Regions from separate parts of the Homo sapiens genome. Here all the other regions are linked to region 1. Evidence: promoter capture Hi-C in human tissues and cell types (Jung and others, 2019). All regions are on one chromosome and are shown on one strand. Each heading gives the region's core, a stretch centred on a gene start or on the middle of the fragment in contact. The rest is flanking DNA. Distances are from core to core; before and after follow the strand shown.

Region 1 (3,106 bases), core at 307-2,806:
GCAGGCTGTATGTAGACAGCCCATTTTAGAACAGGTCTTATTCTAAAGTCAAGCACAGGTAGAATATTGCAATCTACACCAAATCTACAACAGGGTGGGGCATTCATTACTCACCCAGATAAACCAAACATAACTCTGGTGGTTGATCACAGTAAACCCTAACTGTCCCCGTAATACCAACACAACTAAGGCACGGTTTACTCTTTTGCCCAAAATGCTTTTCACGCAAATTAAAAATTAAAAAAAGAAGTTAAATCATGGCCAACTACTCTTCAGAACATGGTGCAAGCCATGATAGTGCACTTAAGATTCTGAAAGCAAAATCTAAAATAGCAGAATGATCTCTATTCACTTTAAAGATATAAAGTTTCACAAACAGTTTTTTAATTGTTTTCTTTAGTGAGTGACCATTTGAATGTGTGACTGATGCAAGAGTAAAGGGTGAACGAAAGAACAAGGTCAAACTTAGGGGACAAAAGATTCCTGGAATAACATGGCCAGAAAGGTTTCCTCTCTTAGGGACAGTTTCTATATTGAAAAAAAAAAAAAAAAAAAAAAAAACAGAAAAGAAGAAGAAGAAAGGGAAACCTTAAAAGGAAAAGAAACCAAGCAAACCACCTACTTCTAGAGTCCACCTGGTCAACACGCCTGCCCCGCGAGGCAGGTAATTCGATTTTGGTGGAGACCGTTTTGCAAAATAGCAGGCCTGGTACACTACTACCTTTGAAAGACAAAATCGGTTCAGAAAGGATGACAACTAGCTATTCTTTCTCATTTAAGGGGAGAGAATAAAGTTTCATTAAGATGCCACACAGAGCACTGTAGGAATGTGAGGGTCGCTCTCAATACCTGGCACCGTCTGCTACGGGAAAACAATCGGCAGAAGGAAGTGGATTGAAGCCCGCAAACTACACTCTGCTTCCCACACGCAGCTGGGCTCTGGGCGCGACGCCCCCGAGGCGATGGGCAGGGGCCGGGGGTGACCGGGGAGGAAGCCCGGGAAGGCGGCGGCGGCGAGGCCGGGGCGCCCGGCCGCAGCGGGAGAGGACAGCCCGTCGGAAGGAGAAGTGGGGCCCGCCGGCTGGCGGACTCGCCTCACCTTCTGCGCCGCGCTCTGCTGCAGCACGTTCTGCTCCACGGTCATGGCCCCCGCGGCGGCGGCGGCGGCGGCGGCGGTGGCGCCCGGCTCCTCGCGCCTCCGCCGGCCCTGGCTGCCGCGCTCCGCCGAGCTCCAGGGAGCGGCGCGGACGGCCTGGGAGGACAGCGCCCCCGCCAGCCAGGCGCGAAGGCGATGGCGGCCGGCGTGCGCGGGCACCGCGGGCAGGCGGCGAAACGCCGACTGTGAGGGCCACGGCGGCCGCCTCACGTCTCCACGCGGCCCGCCTCAGCGCCGCTCGTCCGCGGCGGCCCGGGCCATGAGCGGGCGGAGGACGCCGGGGCACGGGAGAGCGCGAGCCAGTCGGGCGGCGTCACGCGTTCGCACGTTCCTTTGCTGCCGGTCCGCGGGCTGCTTTGGGGAAGGGAGAGAGGGGACGGAGGGAGCGGCCGCCCGGAATGGCGTTGTCCTCCTCCCTCCGCGAGTCCTCCTCCCTCCCCTCCCCCACGCGCCATCCCCGCCCCCGCCCGGCGGCTCCTCCCCCGCAGAGCCCCGCCCGCCGGCCGCCCTAACCCTACATTGTGACCCTCCGGGCGGCGGGGCGGGGCCGCCATGGAGCCCCGCCCCTCCCTGCGCGGGCCTGGCGTTCCCGGGTGGGGCGAGGGCGCGCCTGGCTGCCTGGCCCGGGAGCCGCCCCTGCGGCAGGTTGCGCGACGCTGGCGCTGGGCTTCGGGGAGCGCGACTGGAGGCCGGAGGGCAGCGTTCCTCCCTGCGCCCAGGGCTTGTCGGATCCCTAGCTTACCCAAAGCCTCCAAAGCAAACATTTCCCTCCATGCCCATAACGTCCCAAAACTGCGTAGGGTCCCGAACTCCGGCCCCTTTCTGTGTCACGCGTTCTCTCCCCTCGCCTTTCTAGGAATTTCACAAGCCTTGAACTTGCCTGAAGGGAAAAGTCAAATAAGCAAAGGGTTGCCAGAAATCTTTATGCTGGGAAGTACTTTTCTCCTTAACTAATCATTACGTAAATGAATATAGACATTTTCTATCTACCTTCATTCATTCGAATATGTGTCAGTCACTGCTAGGCTCTGGAAAAATAAAGTTTATCTTCCCAAGACTTAATATAAATGAAATAGGATCTATCTAGCAAACAACCTTACAAAAATATCACTGCCTAATGATACATAATTCTAATATCCCAGTTGCCAAATTAAGCAAACAATTAACTACCATGCATGGAATGCTTGACTATATATGGAATTGTAAGGAAAATCTAACATTAAGAAAGCAATCTCTAGCCACAAAAATATCTCGAGTTCCAGGAGCTAATCTGGGAACGGAGGTGAGAGTGCAGCAGTGTGAGGAGAGAAATTATCAATGCATATTGTCACAAATAGAATACACTTGAAAATCCGGGTATAATTTTTAATCCAATGACAAGGAAAGCAAGCTTGGCAAATGCTAATTGAAATAGTATGTGGTGTTATTTAATAATCATGGATTATAGTAGCTCTTAAGGCTTTGTAACAGTTCTGTGCACTTTACAACCATCTTTGTTCTGCAGCTCAGATGTCTGGTACCACCTGTTGTCACCTTTTCCTTGAAGCTTCATATTTGTTGACTCATTTGATATTTAACAAATTGCAAATCTTATTATATTAATATCCTATGTCTTTTCTAGAGGAAATGAAAAGTCATGAAACGGTTGGAAACAGAAATTTAGAAATACTGTCACATCTCTAATCTCACGTATCGATTTTTTTATAACTCTGAAGCCCAAGGAGGGTGACCTGTCAAAGAGAGCTTATCAAAACCCATTTTTCTTCATTTATAGATCAAAGTTTCTTCTTTTCTTGTTTATATGCTAACTTCATGTTTCTCCATATGAGGGTTTTGGTTTTTTGGTTTGTTTGTTTGTTTTTTAGAAATCAAGCTCATACATTTGAATTCAAGAAAATTAAATTTAACATAAAAATCTAGTAATCTAGTACCATGGGAGGAAAAATGTTG
Region 2 (3,106 bases), core at 182-2,681, 960 kb after region 1:
TCTTTGTTGAAGTTTTAAAGCCGCCCTAGAGTCCAGGTGCTCTATGTGGACAAATCTGGTGACTTGGACCTTTACCATTATGTCTTAGGTATGTGCCTGGCACTTCACAAGAACACATGGCTGTTTGTGGAACAGAAAGGAGCAGAGAGCCAATTATCTTTTAAGAAACTTAAAAAAGAAGACAATCTCATTCTATATTTATTCATATATTTACCATTTTCGGTGCTCTTCATTCCTTTGTGTAGATTCAAGTTTTTATCTGGTATAATTTTTCTGTGCCAAAAGAAATTCTTTTAACATTTCTTTTAGTGCCAATCTGCTGGTGGAACGTTTTTGCAGCACAGGGTTATATGAAATCTTTATTTCATTTCTTTGAAGGGTATTTGTGCTGTAGCCCCAGGGTTTTAACCAGCAGAGGGTGCTGTGCCTCTCCAGAGTTTAGGATGAGGATAAGTGTTGAGGTGCTTCCAGCAGACCTCCCGGTTTTCAATGAAGCTGGAGTCCTAGTCTTGGCGCTGAATTTGCAGACAGCGTTGTTTCAACTTAAGGCTTGATGAGAAAAGACAGAAGCTGCTCTCCACAGCCTACTAGATAAATAAAAAAAAATATTACTAGGAAGTGGTAATAGTTTACTTGAAATAGATCAGTAGGAATTTATAGCGTTATTCAAATATTAATTGTTTTTTCCTAGCAAGAAGTTTACTAGTGTGTTATGGCTTAATTTTTGTTCATGAAAAATAATTGGTCTAGGTTTGCTTTCAGGATAAGAGATGTCTCTTTGTCCTCGCTAAAGCGGTACTTGACACTAATGTTTTTCTCTTGAAAATGCCCATAACTTTTTTCCACTTTCTTAGAAGTATGCAGCTATAGCCATTACGTTAGTGATTTGGACCTGGATTCCAGAGTACGTGGTCATTTGTCTGAAGATTACGTTCTACGATTAATTTCATTTTAATATATGAAGGTGATGCTTTGTTAAAAACAGAGAATCTTATACTCTGGTATGTTACAGAAAGAGGCTTCACACCTTTAGAAGCCCATGAAATATTTCACATACAGAAACAAACTTTGTAATGATAAGGTGATGACCTGTCCTTATATTATATAATAATACAAAAATTGTAGTGGATTTTGCCAGCATATTTGTTCATCATATACGGGAACTCATGAATGATGTTGTCACTTTTCTTCATTCTATGACAGAGGTTTTGCTTACTATATTTAGAAGACAATCACTATCAGAGGGGCAGTTGGCATAGTCTTTGGTAGACCTGGCTCCACTACATACTGGTTCTTTGGCATTGGTAAGGTATTGAATCTCTTTAAACATCAGTTCTCTTTTCTGTAACATTGGAGTAACCGTAGTATTTAGCTCATACAGTTATTGTGAGTTTCTTGAGATAATGTGTGGAAAGCACTCAGCACAGCATCTGTAACATTGTGACTCAATAAATGTCAAGGTTTATTTTAATTAACTTTTATGTTCTGTGAAAGAAATACATGATATTAAGCCACAATTATCATCTGCATTCTATGGATACTTCAGGAAGCATGGAGAGAATGCAAAGAGATAAACAGTTAATGATTTTCTAATGTAATGGAATATCCTAACTCTGATAAAGACAGAGTGCATATGATTTCTTGAGGAGTTTTCTGTTGTAAATGAAGACTGATGGTACAATGCAATAGAAAAGCCACTGGGTTTTTTATCAGGAAACTTTGCTTTATCTTGGCTGTATTACTTCCCACCACCTAAGTTTTGCAAAAACACCTGTTATCCTCTTTGGTCATAATTGGAAGATAAACCTCTTCTAGGGTTCCTTGACAGCAGTGGGAAAGTTTCTGATGCATTGTCTGGGAGGGTCACTGGCAGTCATGAATAGATGAGGTTATACTCCTGAAACAACTGGACTTCACCTGTTATGGACTGAATCATGTTCCTCCAAAATTCATATGTTGAAGTCTTTACCCCAGTACTTCAGAATGTGACTGTATGTGGAGATAACAATCTTAAAGAGGTAATTAAATGTCAAACGAGGTCATTGGAAGTGGACCCTAATCCAATATGACTGGCGTTCTAATAAGAAGAGGAGATTAGGACACAGACATACCCAGAAGACCAGGTGAAGACACCAGAAGACTGCCGTCTACAAGCCAAGGAGAGGGGCCTTCAGAAGAAGCCAACCCTGATGACAGTTTGAGCGTAAATTTCTAGGCTCTAGAACTGTGAGAAATAAATTTCTGTTGTCGAAGCCATCCAGTCTACAGTACTTCATTACAGCCGTGCTGAAAAACTAATATACCACGTGTCCCCTTTGCTCCAGGTCTCCTTGTCAGCATGACTTCTCTAAGAAACTGGGGACTCTACTATGTGGATCATGTTCATAAACTTATGAGTCCCTTTCATACTTCCCTTACATAAAAAGAGTTAAATCTATAATCTTTGTCTGCAAAATGAAAAACTGCTGGACTGAACTCACATTTGAAAGACTCCGTTTTCCTGTAAGTGCTGAGGTCTGACAATATGTCACGTATTAAAGTCTGCCAAGCTGTGGCAGTGGAGCTATCTTTTGGCTTTTCCCTGCACCATGTGAGCTAAGTTTCCTGTACATAGAAAGATCCTTCTGAAGCAGGAGCACAAAAGAAAGAGACAGGTACTTCTTTTTAGTTTCCAGAGGTTATGTAAATATTAGATCTTGCTGTCTTGTCTACAAGAAAAGTGAGTGTGCCCTCAAGACAAATGTGCTGAAGGAGTGCTTGTTTGTAGAAGCCAAAAGGATCATCCAGATATTCTAAATGTTACAAAAGCTGGTGAAGACCTTGTGTTGTGAATCTTAAATTGCCAGTTGGTTCTTTTGCTGGCAAAGGCAGCAGGCTCTTTTCAAAGTGGGATGACTGTAACAGCAGTTAAAATTAACACCTAGTATTTGTTTACTGTTGCTGCTGTAACAAATTACCACAAATTTGGCAGCTTAAAACAATACCCATTCATTATCTTACAGTCCATGAATCAGAGTCCGAGTACAGCATGGCTCAGCTAGGTCCTCTCAGATCAGCACTTTACAAAGGCTGAAATCAAGGTGTAAGTGAGGGTGAATGCTTCTTA
Region 3 (3,106 bases), core at 325-2,824, 910 kb after region 1:
AGTGAGTAATGATTAGCAGACAACATGGTAATTATATTGAAATATTACGTGAGTGCCAATAACAAAGCTTTCTGATCAAATGCTAAGAAATATGTTGTGTAAAGGGATCTCACATTTTTTATTGCGGCTTTCTTTCTACAATGTGACAAATTTCTGGGATATTTCATTATCTTCTTTTTGAATTTTTTTCAAGCAAGACTGTTCAGTATTATGTTAGCATTGATATAAAAAGAAGCAGACCATTGTTAACATTAAAATGTTACTGAGATTTCAAAGGTAGAGGACATTATCCTTTCTTATTTTTCTTTATGATACAGTATTTGTAACATAGTGCTTCTGAAATAGAAAGCACTTTTTGGAAAATAAGTTTAGTGAATAGCCAAATAATTTCTTACATATAACTTACAAAAGTAATACCATCTAGGCTAAGCTATTAAAAATATCAGTACATCAGTAACTACTCATTATATTGACCAACCAGAGCTTATCCATTTTTGGTCATTCTCATCTAGATATACACTTTCAGGCTAAAGAGAGATTTCCTTCCTTTTTCAATTGGTTATGAATAGAAGTCATCAATTTTTTTCTTACTTCCATCTTAATGGTTTGAAATAAAGAGTCAGATGCACGGCTTTTCAATTTCTTTTACTACTTTATTTTATTACTTGATTATTTTAAGGTCAAAAGATTTCCATTTCCAAAATACGTAATAGAAATGATAAAGCAGTAAAATTTGGACTTAAAATAATATGGACATTTTTCTTACAAGTGTCAACATGATTTACACATTATTAAAAAGGCAGTAAAATTTGAACTTATACAGCATAAACTTTACTTAAACTGTCAAATACATGGTTTTAAAGTTATTTTATTAATCTATCACTAATAATTATTTTTCTTATCAACAGAGAAAGTGAAGTTTCCTAAGCCATCACTAGAATTGGAAACACTAGATTTTATAAATTAATTTCTTTTCATTGACCTAAACTCCACATTTCTGCTGTGTTCATCTGAGGTCATGTCCATATAGTCAAATAGCTGAAGGAAAGGTGATATTTTTAGTCAAATCAAACTCCAAACATCATTTTTATCTAAATTATCTGGAGAATTGAATAAATATTTTTTTAAGGCTGTCTGTAGAAGAAAATTATGTCAATTTTTCATTTAGCTAGAGAGGTCCTGACCACAGTGTCTTCTGTTGAATTTCTCCTCAAGGTAGGATTCCAAAATACCTGGAAAATGTGAAACAGTGTTCCTCGTATGGGTAATGTAGCATCTTCACAAAAATTCTGTCATGATTCATTTGAAAAATAATACCTTCTCATGTCTAAAATAGTTTTTCATGAGAAATACATTCTATAAGAAAAAAACAATTGGCCTATCTTAGAGGAAAATGCTATTAAAAATTGTGTTATGGAAACAGGTAACATTTTCTTTATCTTTGTGAGTTTTTTCAACATAAATTTTGGTCAGAGAAATCATTTCAAAATAGAAGAGAGTCAGAAATAATCAGTACAGAAATGGTTTTGTTGAGAACTGTTAATTGAAAAGGCACCAAGTGAAGCCCTCATCTATGTTTGCATAAAAAACTGTTTTCATCCCTAAGAAGCTTGTAGCGTTTGGTGTTTCTAGAAAGCTACCGCAGAAGTGGTGCTGTAGGGGATAGTGATTTTTTTTTTTTTTTTTTTTGCCAACTGATGTTCCTTAATGGCAGCAGGCTTCTCAGAAAAAATGGAAAATTAATAATTCTATATAGCAAGTTCTACATATCATCACTCTATTCTCTAATACTTAGTGTTTAATGTACATAAAGAGTAGCCAATTGTGATATTAACAAACTTATTAACACCTGTTGACAAAGATCTTTGAAGACAAATCTACACGCAAGCTTTTGCCTTAGCGAACAACAGGAATAGTTTCCTTAAAAGGATACAGCTATTTTGAAATTTCCTCAACCATTGCATCCCAGTGGGGGGGATACTTACATGGTAGGACTGTTTGGCCAAAGTGCTTGAAGCATTAGGACACAACAAAGATAGTTTTGAAATGTTTTCTTGCTCAAAATACATTTGTTCTTAGGACACGGCTAGTGCTCATTTTACATTCCATGCCTGAAGTGTTTAAAACACTGTGGTACAGGTTTCTGATTCTGTGTTGGTCAATTTTGAAATCCATGTGTTAGTAGTAAGTGTGCTGATTCGTAGAGTGGGTAACTTCTGGGAACTCCCCTTTCTTTTATTGACAATTTCTTTGTAAAGCAAATGCTAATTCTACAGGCTATTAATAAAGACTGGAACTCCCTTGTTCATTAGACACGCAGTAGGAAAATGGGTAACATAGCTGTAGAAATATATTTGCAATATGTTCTCTTCGCACAATTTGCATATAAATGCCGCTTTCCCTATTTACTCAAATTAGCAATGTGTAATGGAGCACTCATAGCCTTTTTGTAGGTTCCTGTGACCTTTAATTGGCACTCATTTCAGACAATTGCCATTTTAGACATTGCTATCGCCATCTTTTGCAATTAAGTTTCAAAGTTATCATCATGGCATTTTTAATATTTAGAAATTTCTTTTTTTATCTCTGGCTTTCAGTTGAAGACTATTCACCCCGGTGGACTCATCATGTTGGGGACTTTCAATTGCTACTTTAAAAAGAACGCTTCACTGAAATAGGTCTCATCCCATCAGGAACATAGAAAAACAAGCAGCAGGCCGGGCGCGGCGGCACAGGCCTATAATCCCAGCTACTTGGGAGGCTGAGGCAGAAGAATCGCTTGAACCCAGGAGGCGGAGGTTGCAGTGAGCCGAGATCGCGCCACTGCACTCCAGCCTGGGCGACAGAGAGAGACTCTGTCTCAAAAAAAAGTAAAAAAAAAGAAAAAAAGGAAAACAAAAGAAAAAAGAAAAGCAGTTGTTTATCTTTTGGCTTAAGCCAAAAGAACCTCAAATGAAAGAAAACAAACAGATGCCATTAGAAAATGCACTAAAGATATGATGAAAGCTTATCAGAAATAATAATAAAAAATCAAATGTAGCACATCCTATGTACCTGGCACTGTTATAGGAGCTGTGTCTGTATTAACACGTAAGTGTTTGAGGTA
Region 4 (3,106 bases), core at 423-2,922, 840 kb after region 1:
CCATACCTAGATTCATATTTGAATAACTAGTTACTACAGGCTAGCCAATCTGACACATAAAATTAACCATCACACCACATAGTAAGGAGAGCTATTGCTTAAAGAAACCGAGAGGAAAAGTAAGCTCTTTGAGGAGCAAGAGGCAGATGTAGACTAGGAAGGAACCAGACTTGGGTGATGAGAGAGAGAGATCCTGTATAGCCAATGTTATAATACATAAAATGCAGAATGATTCTTTTCTAAATAACTATCTGTCCAGATATAATGTGGGTAGGACAAAACTTCATATTTTTCCCAATGTGGCTTTGTGGCATTCAAGGCTGTGGTCAGTGCTTTACCAGGGAGGAAAGCTAACAGGAAAGCTCCCTTCCTGCAAGTTCCCTGGTGGCAGGAGGAGTGATGGGGACTGTAGGCACCCTGCCGTTGAAGCTGTATTGTACCCTACTCTCAAAAGGCTTATAATTTTGCAAAGGTGACCCGTCATAGTTCACAAAAGATGAGAGAACAAGGTTACGGTGTGTGCACTCCATTTCTGTTCAGTACCTTTTGTTTCCTCTCTGGAGTTTTTCATGGGTCCAGCATCATCTGGCATCCCTCCAAGGCTGTGGTTTTATTTTTTTACTCGTTCTTGTCATAGAGGTTATATGTTGTAATTTGGACTTTGGTATGCAGTTCATAGTACAGCATGTGTTGTAAATACAGTCAACAAGCCTTTATTGAACAGAAAGTACTTTGAGCATTGTGCGAAGAGCCCTGAACTAAGTATTTTAGTTGGGAAAGATCATTGATTAATAGCATAGCTCTAATCTTCATGGGCTACAGATTGTCCTCCCTGTCAGCACCATGTTGGGTGGCAGGAGGTTGTGGACCAAAGCCTAGGAGAGTTTCAGACTAAACTTAAGCCAAAGCTTTAGACCCCCCACATGAGTCTAAAATCCCAGGTGGGTACCACAGATGAAGGCCCTAGGAACACAGATTGAGCCACAGGAATCAGGAAACAAACAAACAAAAAGCAGTTATAATTAGCAAGGCACAGAAGCAAGGTAAGGAAGCGGGTTTAAGGACCAGGAGATAGGAAAGAGTGAGAAGATCTCTGTAGTCTCAGAGCTGGTGATTCTGAGAGTCTGAAACCAATGTTAGCGTGACTATTTTTAGGTTTAGGAGAAAATAAGTATCCCTGGCTGGCTCAGGGATTGAGGGGCAGAGAATAGATTGCATCCTCGAGTTTCCTTTACAATTCTCTTGGCCCCCATTCGGTTTTAAATGGAAGCCACATTTTCATCAGAATATTTTAGATAAGCTTTCTTTGGAACTCATCTGAACTGTGACCCTGGCTGATAATCTGCCCTACACCTTAGAGCATTTTCTTTCTGAAACAGCAGATGTTTCTGAAGTAGTTTATACCATCACTCACAGACTGAGAATAATTGAGATAATGGATGTCAAACACTAAGCAGTGTGCCTGCCACGTAGTAACCATTCAATAAATGCTAGTGATGATTATCATAGGATCAGGTGCTCACCATTTCTTTTTCACTGCTTGCTCCCACAGAGTGTCAATCATGTGAGAGTCAATTGCTTGTGACTCACACATACTCCCTAATTATTTAAAAAATGCAGGTGAAATTACATTTCATTCCAACATCAGATTCCAGGAGTGCTATAGCTAATCTCTTCTCTTTGGCCTAAGCATACACTATACATGATTCTAATTTCTCTAGCTAGTTTCAGATCCAAGAAAGCATTTGTTTCTTCATTTTCAAACTTTTTAAAAGGGCAAGTGCATGGTGTATCTCTGTATTACTTATTATCAATTTTAAGCTTGGAGAGGTAAAAATCTCTATTCCTGCAGAGTTGATGGGGGCCTGTCAAGTTTCAATTCTCAGATTCTACTTGGCACAATCATCGGACTTTTTCCCCCAACCAGTATCCGAGCACCAAGACAAAGTTCATTTGTCTGAATTCTTGGGATTTCTCTTGGTTTCCTTTAAACAAAACAAAACAAAACAAAAACAAAAAAAACCATAGATACTGTGTTAAAAATTGGACAGTCTTCAGGAACAGCTGTTATTTTAATGGTCATAGTATATGTCCTCATCAGTCTCTGCTGTTTCACACCTTATTTTCTCCAGAATACTTAGATAAATTCCGTCTGGCCTGAGGGCTTTATTGCACTTTGCTTTCTTTGATTGCAGCAATATTTTCTTCACTGGAAGCTCTAATCTCTGTCATCCTTTTGAAAAACATTCTCAGAAATTAGAATTTCCCCATCACTTCCTAGAGTTAAGTGCTGCCAAAGAACCAAACAAAAACCCTCTCTGGGCTTTGGTTCCTCTAACCTTATCATTCCTTCCTGACCTCCTACATTAGCTTCCAGCAGTTTATATGCTAGTGAGTCTATTATCTGGCCAAGCTGGACTTCTACTTTAGAAGTCTGCATTTTGTGGCCAGGCGCGTGCTCACGCCTGTAATCCTAGCACTTTGGGAGGCTGAGGCGGGCGGATCACGAGGTCAGGAGTTTGAGACCAGCCTGACCAACATGGTGAAACCCCGTCTCTACTAAAAATACAAAAACTAGCCGGGCGTGGTGGGGGGCGCCTGTAATCCCAGCAGGAGAATCACTTGAACCCGGGAGGCGGAGTTGTAGTGAGCCAATATGGCGACTCCTTCTAAAGAAGTCTGCCTTTTATTCATAAATGCCTTAACGTTCTCTCTCCTCCTTCTAAAAGTGGCTCTGTTCAGAGCTTGTTTGTCCATTTGGACTATTTGTTTTGAAATATTCAGTTCTCCTTTTTCCTGGCTGTCTACTTTTAATAAGTAACCAGTTAATTTCTTGGATTGATATTTTGGGCAAGAAAAACTAGAGGATATTGAAGTTCGTTTTGGCCTTAGGAGTCTGTGATTCTGTAACTGTGTTCAGTTCATATCCTTTTATTACTTCTTTCCAAATGGTCTCTGTTAAGTGAGAATAGCGCCATTGGTATATTTTGCATCATAATGCTGGATCATCTCTGGATTTGGATGTTGGACCTGCTAGTGGCATGCTACTGGCGGAGTTGTTTAATTTCAGTTTCCTTGTTCATAGAATGGAAATAAAGAAATTATC

The links. Contacts are between HindIII fragments. The study calls those that stand out against the background at their distance.
Region 2: a fragment that was not itself captured here is called in contact with the fragment with the promoter of USP25 in region 1 in 1 of the 25 tissues and cell types used here (lymphoblastoid cells).
Region 3: a fragment that was not itself captured here is called in contact with the fragment with the promoter of USP25 in region 1 in 1 of the 25 tissues and cell types used here (dorsolateral prefrontal cortex).
Region 4: a contact is called between a fragment that was not itself captured here and the fragment with the promoter of USP25 in region 1, in 1 of the 25 tissues and cell types used here (mesenchymal stem cells).

Annotation. Positions count from the first base shown.
Region 1 is chr21:15,728,432-15,731,537 of GRCh38, reverse strand. It overlaps USP25 (ubiquitin specific peptidase 25), which reads right to left and starts at 1,556. Exons shown (of 26, transcript NM_001283041.3): 1 at 1,100-1,556. The coding sequence starts at 1,144. RefSeq lists a silencer at 992-1,951. The HindIII fragment of the contact is 10,815 bases long and covers 1-3,106 here.
Region 2 is chr21:14,771,273-14,774,378 of GRCh38, reverse strand. It overlaps the pseudogene GAPDHP16. Among named protein-coding and RNA genes, the nearest start is that of ASMER1, 150 kb to the left of the region's middle. RefSeq lists an enhancer at 1,748-1,917. The HindIII fragment of the contact is 4,738 bases long and covers 1-3,106 here.
Region 3 is chr21:14,819,522-14,822,627 of GRCh38, reverse strand. ASMER1 (adipocyte associated metabolic related lncRNA 1) reads left to right here. Exons shown (of 4, transcript NR_146322.1): 4 at 1-3,106. Among named protein-coding and RNA genes, the nearest start is that of ASMER1, 98 kb to the left of the region's middle. The HindIII fragment of the contact is 3,318 bases long and covers 1-3,106 here.
Region 4 is chr21:14,886,840-14,889,945 of GRCh38, reverse strand. The region is part of intron 1 of ASMER1 (adipocyte associated metabolic related lncRNA 1); the gene reads left to right. Among named protein-coding and RNA genes, the nearest start is that of ASMER1, 30 kb to the left of the region's middle. The HindIII fragment of the contact is 3,238 bases long and covers 54-3,106 here.